3 separate regions of the Homo sapiens genome follow, and all the other regions are linked to region 3. The links are contacts of gene promoters, found by promoter capture Hi-C in blood cells and fetal thymus (Javierre and others, 2016). All regions are on one chromosome and are shown on one strand. The core of a region is centred on a gene start or on the middle of the fragment in contact, and the rest is flanking DNA. Distances in the headings are between cores, read along the strand shown. Region 1 overlaps UPF3B (UPF3B regulator of nonsense mediated mRNA decay). Region 2 has its middle 3.3 kb from the start of SOWAHD. Region 3 holds the start of SLC25A5 (solute carrier family 25 member 5).

Evidence for each region. The method cuts DNA at HindIII sites, captures the fragments that hold promoters and counts their contacts. A CHiCAGO score of 5 or more calls a contact.
Region 1: a contact is called between a fragment that was not itself captured here and the fragment with the promoter of SLC25A5 in region 3, in 1 of 17 cell types (neutrophils). The highest score is 5.6, in neutrophils.
Region 2: a contact is called between a fragment that was not itself captured here and the fragment with the promoter of SLC25A5 in region 3, in 1 of 17 cell types (fetal thymus). The highest score is 5.4, in fetal thymus.

What each region holds. Positions count from the first base shown.
Region 1 is chrX:119,846,868-119,850,247 of GRCh38, reverse strand. All of the region lies in intron 3 of UPF3B (UPF3B regulator of nonsense mediated mRNA decay), which reads left to right. Among named protein-coding and RNA genes, the nearest start is that of UPF3B, 4.4 kb to the left of the region's middle. The HindIII fragment of the contact is 6,337 bases long and covers 1-3,380 here.
Region 2 is chrX:119,760,285-119,763,471 of GRCh38, reverse strand. No RefSeq gene overlaps it. Among named protein-coding and RNA genes, the nearest start is that of SOWAHD, 3.3 kb to the right of the region's middle. RefSeq lists enhancers at 2,874-2,943, 2,954-3,023. The HindIII fragment of the contact is 4,283 bases long and covers 1-3,187 here.
Region 3 is chrX:119,466,613-119,469,693 of GRCh38, reverse strand. SLC25A5 (solute carrier family 25 member 5) reads right to left here and starts at 1,250. Exons shown (of 4, transcript NM_001152.5): 1 at 1,068-1,250; 2 at 1-33. The coding sequence starts at 1,178. It overlaps SLC25A5-AS1 (SLC25A5 antisense RNA 1), which reads left to right and starts at 574. Exons shown (of 1, transcript NR_028443.1): 1 at 574-3,081. RefSeq lists silencers at 461-700, 1,191-1,570. The HindIII fragment of the contact is 10,795 bases long and covers 1-3,081 here.

The sequences.
Region 1 (3,380 bases), core at 779-3,278, 380 kb before region 3:
AGCTCACTGCAGCCTGGAATTCCTGGACTCAAGCAATCCTCCCACCTCAGCCTCCTGAGTAGCTGGGACTACAGATGTATGTCACCATGCCTGGCTAATTTTCTTTAAATTTTTTATAGAGATGGGGTCTCACTACGTTGCCCAGGCTGGTCTTGAACTCCTGGGCTCAAGTGATTTCCCCCCCCCCACCTCAGCCTCCCAAAGTGCTGGGATTACAGGTGCGAGCCACCATACCCAGCTCAACACCACTTATTAAAGAGACTATCCTTTCCTCATTGTGTTTTTTGTTTGTTTGTTTGTTTTGTTTTGTTTTTAAATCTTAGAGACAAGGTCTGCTTATGTTGCCCAGGCTGGATTTTATTGTTTTTTTTTAATATCTTGTTCACCTAGCCTTAAACAGTCACACTTTATGTCCTCATCACTTAATGCCTAGACAACCACTGTCTCTAAACTTACAGGATTTTCCATTTTTTTCATTCTTGTATAATTCAGTCTATTATATTGCCATGAAATTAATCTTTTTGAAAATAATGATTTAAATTAACAGTTGGGGGAAAAAGTCCAAACTCCTTAGCCTGGTAGTCAGGGTCCTCCATATTCTGGCCTCACTTCTGTTTCTTCAGCCTGTCTTCCACAATTTCCCTCTGTTTCAGTCTGGTTTATCTATTCCTTCTCAAATATATCACAGTTTTGTTTTTTGGTTTTTATTTTTGTTTTTTTTCTTTTTCTTCTCTCTCTCTCTCTTTTTTTTTTTGAGACAGAGTCTTAACTCTGTCGCCCAGGCTGGAGTACAGTGGCACAATCTTGGCTCATTACAACCTCCGCCTCCTGGGTTCAAGCAATTCTCGTTCCTCAGCCTGCCGACTTAGCTGGGATTACAGGTGTGTGCCGCCACGCCCAGCTAATTTTTGTAATTTTAGGAGATGGGGTTTCACCATGTTGGCCAGGCTGGTCTCAAACTCCTGGCCTCAAGCAATCCACCCGCCTCAGCCTCCCAAAGTGCTGGGATTACAGGCGTGAGCCACCATGCCTGGCCTAATATATCACAGTTTTGAAGCTAATCTGATTCTCTACTCACTGGGATTCCCAACATAATTTTTCCTCCATGACTGCTTTGCAGTGCCTTCTGGTCAATTCTGTTTATTTTTATTTTTCTGCTTATGTCTACATGCCAATGATTTAAGGATAGGATACCTTGTTTTTGACATTCTGTGACAGGGTGCTTGTGAATTTTTTTCCCATTAGTCACTTGGGGTTTTTGTATTGAAATATAACTCACCTATAATAAAATTCATCCTCTTAAAGCGTACAATTCAGTGGTTTCTGGTATATTCACAAGGTAGTACAACCATCAGTACTAATTCCAGAATGTTTTCATCCCTCCAAAAAGAAACCCATATCTATTAGTAGTTACCTCCCATTCTCTCCCTCCAGCCCCTGGCAACCACTAATCTACTTTATGTATCTATGATTTCCCTCCATTTCATATAAATGTAATCATACAATATGTGGTCTTTTCTGACTGGCTTCTTTTACCTAGCACAATGTTTTCAAGGTCCATCCATGTTGTAACATATAACATATATCATTACCTCATTCCTTTTGCATTTTTAAAAATTGTAAAAATACACGTAACATAAAATTTACCATCTTAACCATTTTAAGTGTACAGTTCAGTAGCATTAAGGTATATTCACACTGTTGTGCAACAATCTTGGGAACTTTTTCATCTTGAAAAACTGAAACTCTTTACCCATTAAACAACTCCTTATTTCCCTTCCTCCAGCCCCTGGCAACCACCATTATACCTTGTGTCTGTATGAGTTTCACTACTGTAGGTACCACATATAGGTGGAAACATACAGTGTCTGTCTGGCTTATTTCATTTAGCATAATATCTTCAAGGTGTATCCATGTCGTAGCATGTGTCAGAATTTTCATCTTTTTTTTTTTTTTTTTTTTTTTTGAGATGGAGTCTCACTTTGTTGCCCAGGCTGGAATGCAGTGGCGCGATCTCAGCTCACTGCAACCTCCGCTTCCTGGGTTCAAGCAATTCTCCAGCCTCAGCCTCCCAAGTAGCTGGGATTACAGGTACCCACCACCACAGCTGGCTAATTTTTTTGTACTTTTGGTAAAGATGGGGTTTCACTGTGTTGGCCAGGCTAGTTTCAAACTCCTGACCTGAAGTGACATGCCTGCCTCAGCCTCCCAAAATGCTAGGAATTACAGGCATGAGCCACTGCCCCCAGCCTCATTTTTAAGACTAATATTCCAGTATATGTATATACCACATTTTGTGTATCCATTCATCTGTCAAGGGGTATTCGAGTTGCTTCCACTCTTGGCTATTGTGAACAATATTGTTATGAACACAGATGTGCACATATTCGAGTCCTTGTTCTCACTGCTTTTGGATATATACCGAGAAATGGAATTTCTGGAGTCATTTGGTAATTCTATTTTTATTTTATTATTTATTTATTTTGAGACAGAGTCTCTGTCACACAGGCTGGAGTGCAGTGGCATGATCTTGGCTCACTGCAACCTCCACCTCCCAGGTGCAAGCAATTCTCCTGCCTCAGCCTCCCAAGTATCTGGGATTACAGACACCTGCCACCACACCCTGCTAATTTTTTATGTTTGTGGTAGAGACGGAGTTTCACCATGTTGGCCAGGCTGGTCTCAAACTCCTGACCTCAAGTGATGCGCCCACCTCGGCCTCTCAAAGTGCTGAGGTTACAGGTGTGAGCCACTGTGCCCCGCCGGTAGTTCTTTTTTGTTTTGTTTTGTTTTTTTGAGATGGAATTTCGCCCTCATTGCCCAGGCTGGAGTAAGTACAATGGCGCGATCTTCCCTCATTGCAACCTCCACCTCCTGGGTTCAAGCAATTCTCCTGCCTCAGCCTCCTGAGTAGCTGGGATTACAGGTGCCCACCACCACACCCAGCTAATTTTTGTATTTTTAGTAGAGATGGGGTTTTACCATGTTAGTCAGGCTGGCCCAATAATTCTATTTTTAATGTTTTATGGAACTGCCATACTGTTTTCCATGCAGCTGCATCATTTTACATTCCCACCAATACATGAGTGTTCCAGTTTCTCCACATCTTTGCCAACACTTGTTATTTTCTGCTTTTTGATAGTAGTCCTCCTAATAGGCGTGAGATGATACCTCATTGTGGTTTTGATTTGCATTTCCCTAATGACTAGTAATGTGGAACATATTTCCATATGCTTGTTAGCCATTTGTATATTATCTTTGAAGAAATGTCTATTCAAGTCTTTTGACCATTTTTTAAATTGGGTTATTTGGTTTTTTGTTGTTGAGTTATAGGAGTTCTTTATATATTCTCGATATTACCCCTTATCAGATAATATAAT
Region 2 (3,187 bases), core at 151-2,650, 290 kb before region 3:
CTGCTAGAATGAAGTCTTGCATCATCTGCTTAACTCCACTTTGCTCCCCTGGAAAGAGGTTTCTCGGGGAATTTGCTCTTTCTCTTGGGGTAAGCATACCAGTCTTGCCTCAAAAAGCATACCAGAAATGCCAACGGCTTGATGTGAGGCACGGAGAGTTTTCAGCATGGGAGTTTGTCCCCTGCAGCCAAACCTCAATTTTACATGGAGGAGATAGGCTAGGCAGTATCACATGATGAGAAAAATCTGTGGGGAAGAGTAGCTGACTACAGGAAAACTACAGAAAACCGTTTTCAAATCTTCCAGGTAATTTGGTTTTCGTTTTGGAAAGAGTAGGGTGAACGCTTGTCTCAGGCCCCCAGATCTGCTAACAGTTAAGATGCTTAGGTTCAAACTTTTCCTATAAAGAGGGGACTACTGTTATAAGTGTCCTTTGAATGCTCAGCACACACCAATCTTCCCTGCAAGCCAGGAGCCTGCAGACTCAGCCAAGTGGCAAGAAGGCCCTGCCCTGACAGCCTTCACCAAGCCCAACCCACCTTGGCAGCTATCAAGGGGGAGGTTGTGGAACAGAAACCACAGTCCTGCATCAGTTGGCCTGTTCGCATCTATAAAATGGGCACGGGGTGGAGAGAGTTAATGCCAGATGCCAATGCCAACTGCCAGAATCTAGGAACTGTTAGCCCTCCCTCCTTCAATTACTAAAGAAAAGAAGTTCATTTAGAAAAGACAAAGGAAGGCCAGGCACGGTGGCTCATGCCTGTAATCCCAGCACTTTAGGAGGCCAAGGTGGGCGGATCACCTGAGGTCAGGAGTTCGAGACCAGCCTGGCCAACATGGTGAAACCCCATCTCTACCAAAAATACAAAAATTAGCTGGGCGTGGTGGTGGGTGCCTGTAATCCCAGCTACTCAGGAGGCTGAGGCAGGGAGAATCACTTGAACCCTGGAAGCGGAGGTTGCAGTGAGCTGAGATCACACCATTGCACTCCAGCCTGGGCAACAGAGCAAGACTCCATCTAAAAAAAAAGAAAGAAAGAAAGAAAGAAAGAAAAGACAAAGGAAATGCTCTATTACACTGTGTAAGTGTGTTTAAGGTGTAGCTCCTGGAGACATGGGACAGGCTGAAAACAGCAAGGGGGTTTGGATCATTTCATGATTGAGAAGACCCTCATGGGTTACTAAAGGAAGGCAGTGTGGGCCAGGCACAGAGTCTTATATCTGTAATTCCAGCACTTTGGGAGGCTGAGGTGGGAGGATGACTTGAACCCAGGAGTTCGAGACCAGCTTAAGCAACATAGCGAGACCCTGTCTGTACAGACACACACACAAAAAAAATAGCTGAGCATGGCAACATGTGCCTGTAGTCCCAGCTACTTGGGAGGCTGAGGCAGGAGGTTCACCAGAGCCCAGGTGTTTGAGGCTGCAATGAGCTATGATCGTTGCCACGGTACTCCAGACTGGGTAAGAGTGAGACGCCATCTCAAAAATAAAAAATAAAGGAAAGTAGGAAAGTTTTGAGCACAGAAGCAAACAGGCCCACCAGGCAGAGATGGAAACCTGGATGGATGGGCTCAGGGTGGCGTTTCTGGGCTGTTTGTTAGTGGTGACTGTTTCTGGCTGGTGTTCACGGACTGGGATGAGAGGGCTGGGGAACGCGACAGTCCATTGCAAGGGCTACCCAAGCCTTCAGGGATACAGTGCTATTTTTAAAATGCACTGTTCTCCAAGGCAGCATGGGTCTGTAGCCAGCAACTGCTTTCCTGGCCTTTCAGGCTCAGTCAACCCTCCTGTAGTCTATTTAATTCATGCCATTTCTGAATGGGAGCAATTTTGCAAGCTACAATTTATGCATTAAACTTAACTTTTTAAAAAGAATTTTACGTAAGTGAAATATATATATTTATTGAGATAGGGTCCCACTCTGTCACCCAGGCTGGAGTGCAGTGGAATGCTTTACTCACTGCAGCCTCCACCTCCCAGGCTCAAGCAATCCTCCCACCTCAGCTTCTCTAGTAGCTGGGACTACAGGCCTGCACCACTACAACTGGCTAATTTTTGTATATTTTTGTAGAGACAGGGTCTCCCTATATTGCCCAGGCTGGTCTAGAACTCCTGGGCCCAAGGGATCCTCCTGCCTCAACCTCCCAAAGTGCTGGGATTACAGCTGTGAGCCACCACACCCAGCCTTAAACTTAATTTTTTAAATGCTGCTGAGCAGGTGTGGTGGCTCGTGTCTGTAATCCCAGCACTTTGGGAGGCTGAGGCAGGGGAACACTTGAGGTTAGGAGTTCGAGACCAGCCTGACCAACATGGCGAAACCCCATCATTACTACAAATACAAAAATTAGCCAGGCGTGGTGGTGCACGTCTGTAATCCCAGCTACTTGGGAGGCTGAGGTAGGAGAATCGCTTGAACCCAGGAGGCAGAGGTTGCAGTGAGCCTAGATCACGCCATTGCACTCCAGCCTGGGCGACAGAGTGAGACTCTGTCTCAAAAAACAGTAATAATAAATAAATGCTGCTGGCTGGGCGTGGTGGCTCATGCCTGTAATCCCAGCACTTTGGGAGGCTGAGGCAGGCGGATCACTAGGTCAGGAGTTCGAGACCAGCCCAGCCAACATAGTGAAACCCCGTCTCTACTAAAAATACCAAAAAAAAAAAAAAAAAAAAAAAATCAGCCGGGCGTGGTGGCGGGTGCCTGTAGCTATTTGGGAGGCTGAGGCAGGAGAATTGCTTGAACCCGGGAGGCAGAGGTTGCGATGAGTCAAGATTGCGCCACTGCACTCCAGTCTGGGTGACAGAGTGAGACTCCATTTCAAAAATAAATAAATAAATGCTACTGAGGAAAGCCCCATCTTGGAAAAAAAAAAGTGCCCGTGGGTGTGTCTCATTAGAGGCCACAAATCAAGGTAAATTACATGACTGACCGTGGAAATATCAGAAATGTAAATTTGGAAACTTTTGCCTTTTACCCCCAACCCAAGGCCCCTATATGACAACTCTTCTAGGATGAGGCTGGTGCCTGAGGCCAGACCATCAAAGAGCTCAGGACAGAGGTGAACTGTATGTTTCTCCTCAGATCCAAGTGGAAGTAGCTTCTTCTGTGCACAGCTCTGGCCATTTGTTCTGAGAAGGAGGCCCAGAGCCTGCCCCGGGGGGCACAACATCACGGCCATGGTTGGGTG
Region 3 (3,081 bases), core at 1-2,500:
ATCTGCAGTGATCTGCTTGCTGGCATGCTGCACCTAACAGACAGGAAGGAAGCCAACAGGGACAGTTATAACCATGGGGAAGGGAAAGAGAAGAGCTTATGCCATCTCGATCAATGCCCTTTAAGGTAGGCTCCCCTCTCTCAAATCTAGTCTTCGTATATCATACTGGCTGGACCCTCCCAACCCTCTGAGGCTGTCACAGGGGAAGAGGTGATCTGCACCAGTAGCATTAAGCCTCCACCCCTCTGAGTGGAGAGGGGGCATCCTCCAGCGGACCCGTGACCTTCAGACCTAGGAGAAAGGTCATTACCTCAAACCCAGGTTCAGAGGCATTAGGGCGAGTCCCACATAGGGCGCGGTCACCTTGGGGACCGCAGCCTACGCCTCAAGTCTCCTGAGCTGCTTCCGTCTCGCTCCGCCCCCACTCCGCTCCCAGAGGTGACCCGAGCGCCGCCGCCGCCAGCCCTACACGCTAGCCCAGGAGCGCCCTCTAGAGCCGGCACTGGAGAGCGCGCGGCGCAGGGAGGCAGGCGGAGACGCGGCGGCAGCGGCCGCGGCTGCGCGGGGGCGGACGTAAAAGGCACACGCGCTTCCCGGCGCCGGCTTCCGGCCCGGCGAGGTTTGAGCGCGTCCGCGGGCTGGGAGGCCGCTGGACCCGGGCGCATGGCCTCCCCCGGGCAGTTATCTCCTTGCCGCGACCTTGAGGTCTTCGGTAAGAACTGGCGTTCCTCTTTCTAACGCCGGCTTTCGGCCTTCGCCCTTGACGCCCAGGCCCGGGGAGGCCGTCACTCAGAAACTGCTCCATCCGAGTCCGCCGCCTCGGAGATGCCGAGAGCCTGGTCCTGCCCTCTGCCCCCGGCCCCTTCCTAGACTCACTACTTCAGGTCACTAAAGGCGCCTCCCACCAGTTTGACTTCTGTTCTGCCTCTGCGCCCCGCTCTGGCCTCTCCTAAGCCGCTTCCCTGGCCATGTCTTTAGAGTTCGCTCCCCGCCACCCCTCGGGCGCCCGCCTTCTGTGCGACCCTTCCCCCCACTTCCTGGTTGGGCTCCTGGATCCCAGGACGTACCTGCAGCAGCAGCTTGACCCGCTCGATGGGCGCTACCGCCGTCTTGGAGATGGCTGCGGCCACTCCACCTGCCAGGAAGTCCTTGGCGAAGGACACAGCGGCATCTGTCATGTTGAAAGAGGAGGCAGACTGCTGCAGGACGGGACTGGGCCGGGAACCGGCTTTGACTCCGGCGCTGCGGGGCGGAGCGAAGCAAATGGCCGATTTATATAGGGGGAGCCGGAGCTGGAGCGGCAGGCGTCGGAGGCGGGGCCGGGGCGGGGTCTGGGCCCCGGCGCGCTGGGCGGCAGAGCCGCTGAGTGGCCCAGCTCGCAGGAGGAGGAGTCGTGGAGGGCGGGCCGGGACTGCTCTCCGCGCCGCCCGTGCTCGCCCTCGGCACCTGACCCGGCGAGAGGAAGGGGCGGGTCCAGAGAACACCCGGGACTTGAACGCTGGACCCTGAGAGAGGCCTCGGAGAGGGGAGGAAGGGTGAGGTCACGATGTGCCTGGACAAAAACCCTTGGAGCAGGACCAGGACTAGGGTGAGACGCATTTGCTACAGGGATGCCAAAAGAACCCTTCAGTCATCGAGATAAACAGTAGTCAATGCGATACTTTAAAAAAGTCGTATGGGCAAACTACATCCTACTGGCCGGCCCCCTTGTTTTGTAAATAAAGTTTAATTGGAGTGTCAAGGCTGGGTTTAGGGTGAGGCAAGCGAGACAAGGTCATGCAAGTGCAGGTTGGGATCCTGTCTGTATTTCAAATGTTGATCATTTGTTCATCATGGATTTTTGCATTGCTTCTGATTTTTTTAAAATAGTACATGAAAAATCATTTGTCTTAATTACTGAGTTGTTTTTCACCAAGGTGAATGCCTCACTCTTCCCACTCTAGACCGTGTGCTGTCCTGGAGCCAGTGAAACCAGACGAAATTAAGGGAACAGCAGACGAAGGAACTGCCACCGTGCCCCAGACCCTGGTTTGCAAATACAGTTCGACAAAGATCTTGCCAGGAATTGGCCTGGGAGAGTCCAAAGGACTGGGCTGGGGGTGGGGAAATGATTTTAGCCAGAAGACAAATATAGAGGTTGTACCCAGAAGGTTAAGAGGCTTAGGAAGGTTAAGAACTACGTTAACATTTGGCTCCCAGGACCCCAGGTAAAGTGCCCTTGGATTGAATAGATTTCTGAACTCCAGAAACATTTAGAGGAATCAATAGAATTAGATTGGCAGCCATTGTGCCAATGGACAAGTGCTTACTGAGCCCCTTAATCCCTTCACTGGGTAAGCATTTGCCACACATGTCCTCAAAAACCTACTTGTTAGCTTAAGTGGACTCCCTCAAGTTCAGAACAGGAGCAAATAGTGTAATCACAAGTTCCGTGTCTGAATAATCATAACAATGTTTATAAAAATAAGGACGACTGTTGAAAACTGCAACTGCAGCTGAACCTTATGTGCCCAGACTTCAGAATTCCCATAGGCAAAATGCCAGCAGGCCTTTGCACACTGAACACATAGTGTTCATATCCTTCACTTTCCTTTCCTGCCCTCTCCTATCTTCTCCAGATCTGCCTGTGAAAGGACCCAATTCTAGGACCCCCCAGGATGGTTAGGCCCTTCCTCTGAAAGTACACTTTGCAATTTGTTAGTCTCCTCAAGAACCCCAGCGATCGAAACTGATGCACACAAATTGCATGTGTTCAAAGGAGCAATTTTGAATCTAGCTTTGTTGATCCTGGGAGAAATCTTTGACCTGTGTTAGTGAAAGGCTATGGTGTTTCTCAGCTGATTATAATAGCGAGGTAGCTGAATGCAAAAAAACAGTTTCAGAGAATGGTAGAGTATATCCTCCAAAGGTGATACTCGCTTCTCTATTCTGGTGAGAGAAACAAGAGCTAAAGCAAAATTCTACAGAGGGCTTTATTTGGAGAGAGGTGGATTTTATTTATAATGCATTTAAAATTCAAAATCTTTCTAGTTTGAACTCTTGACATTCTGATTAATGCATTTTTATTCAACTGTTAATTAT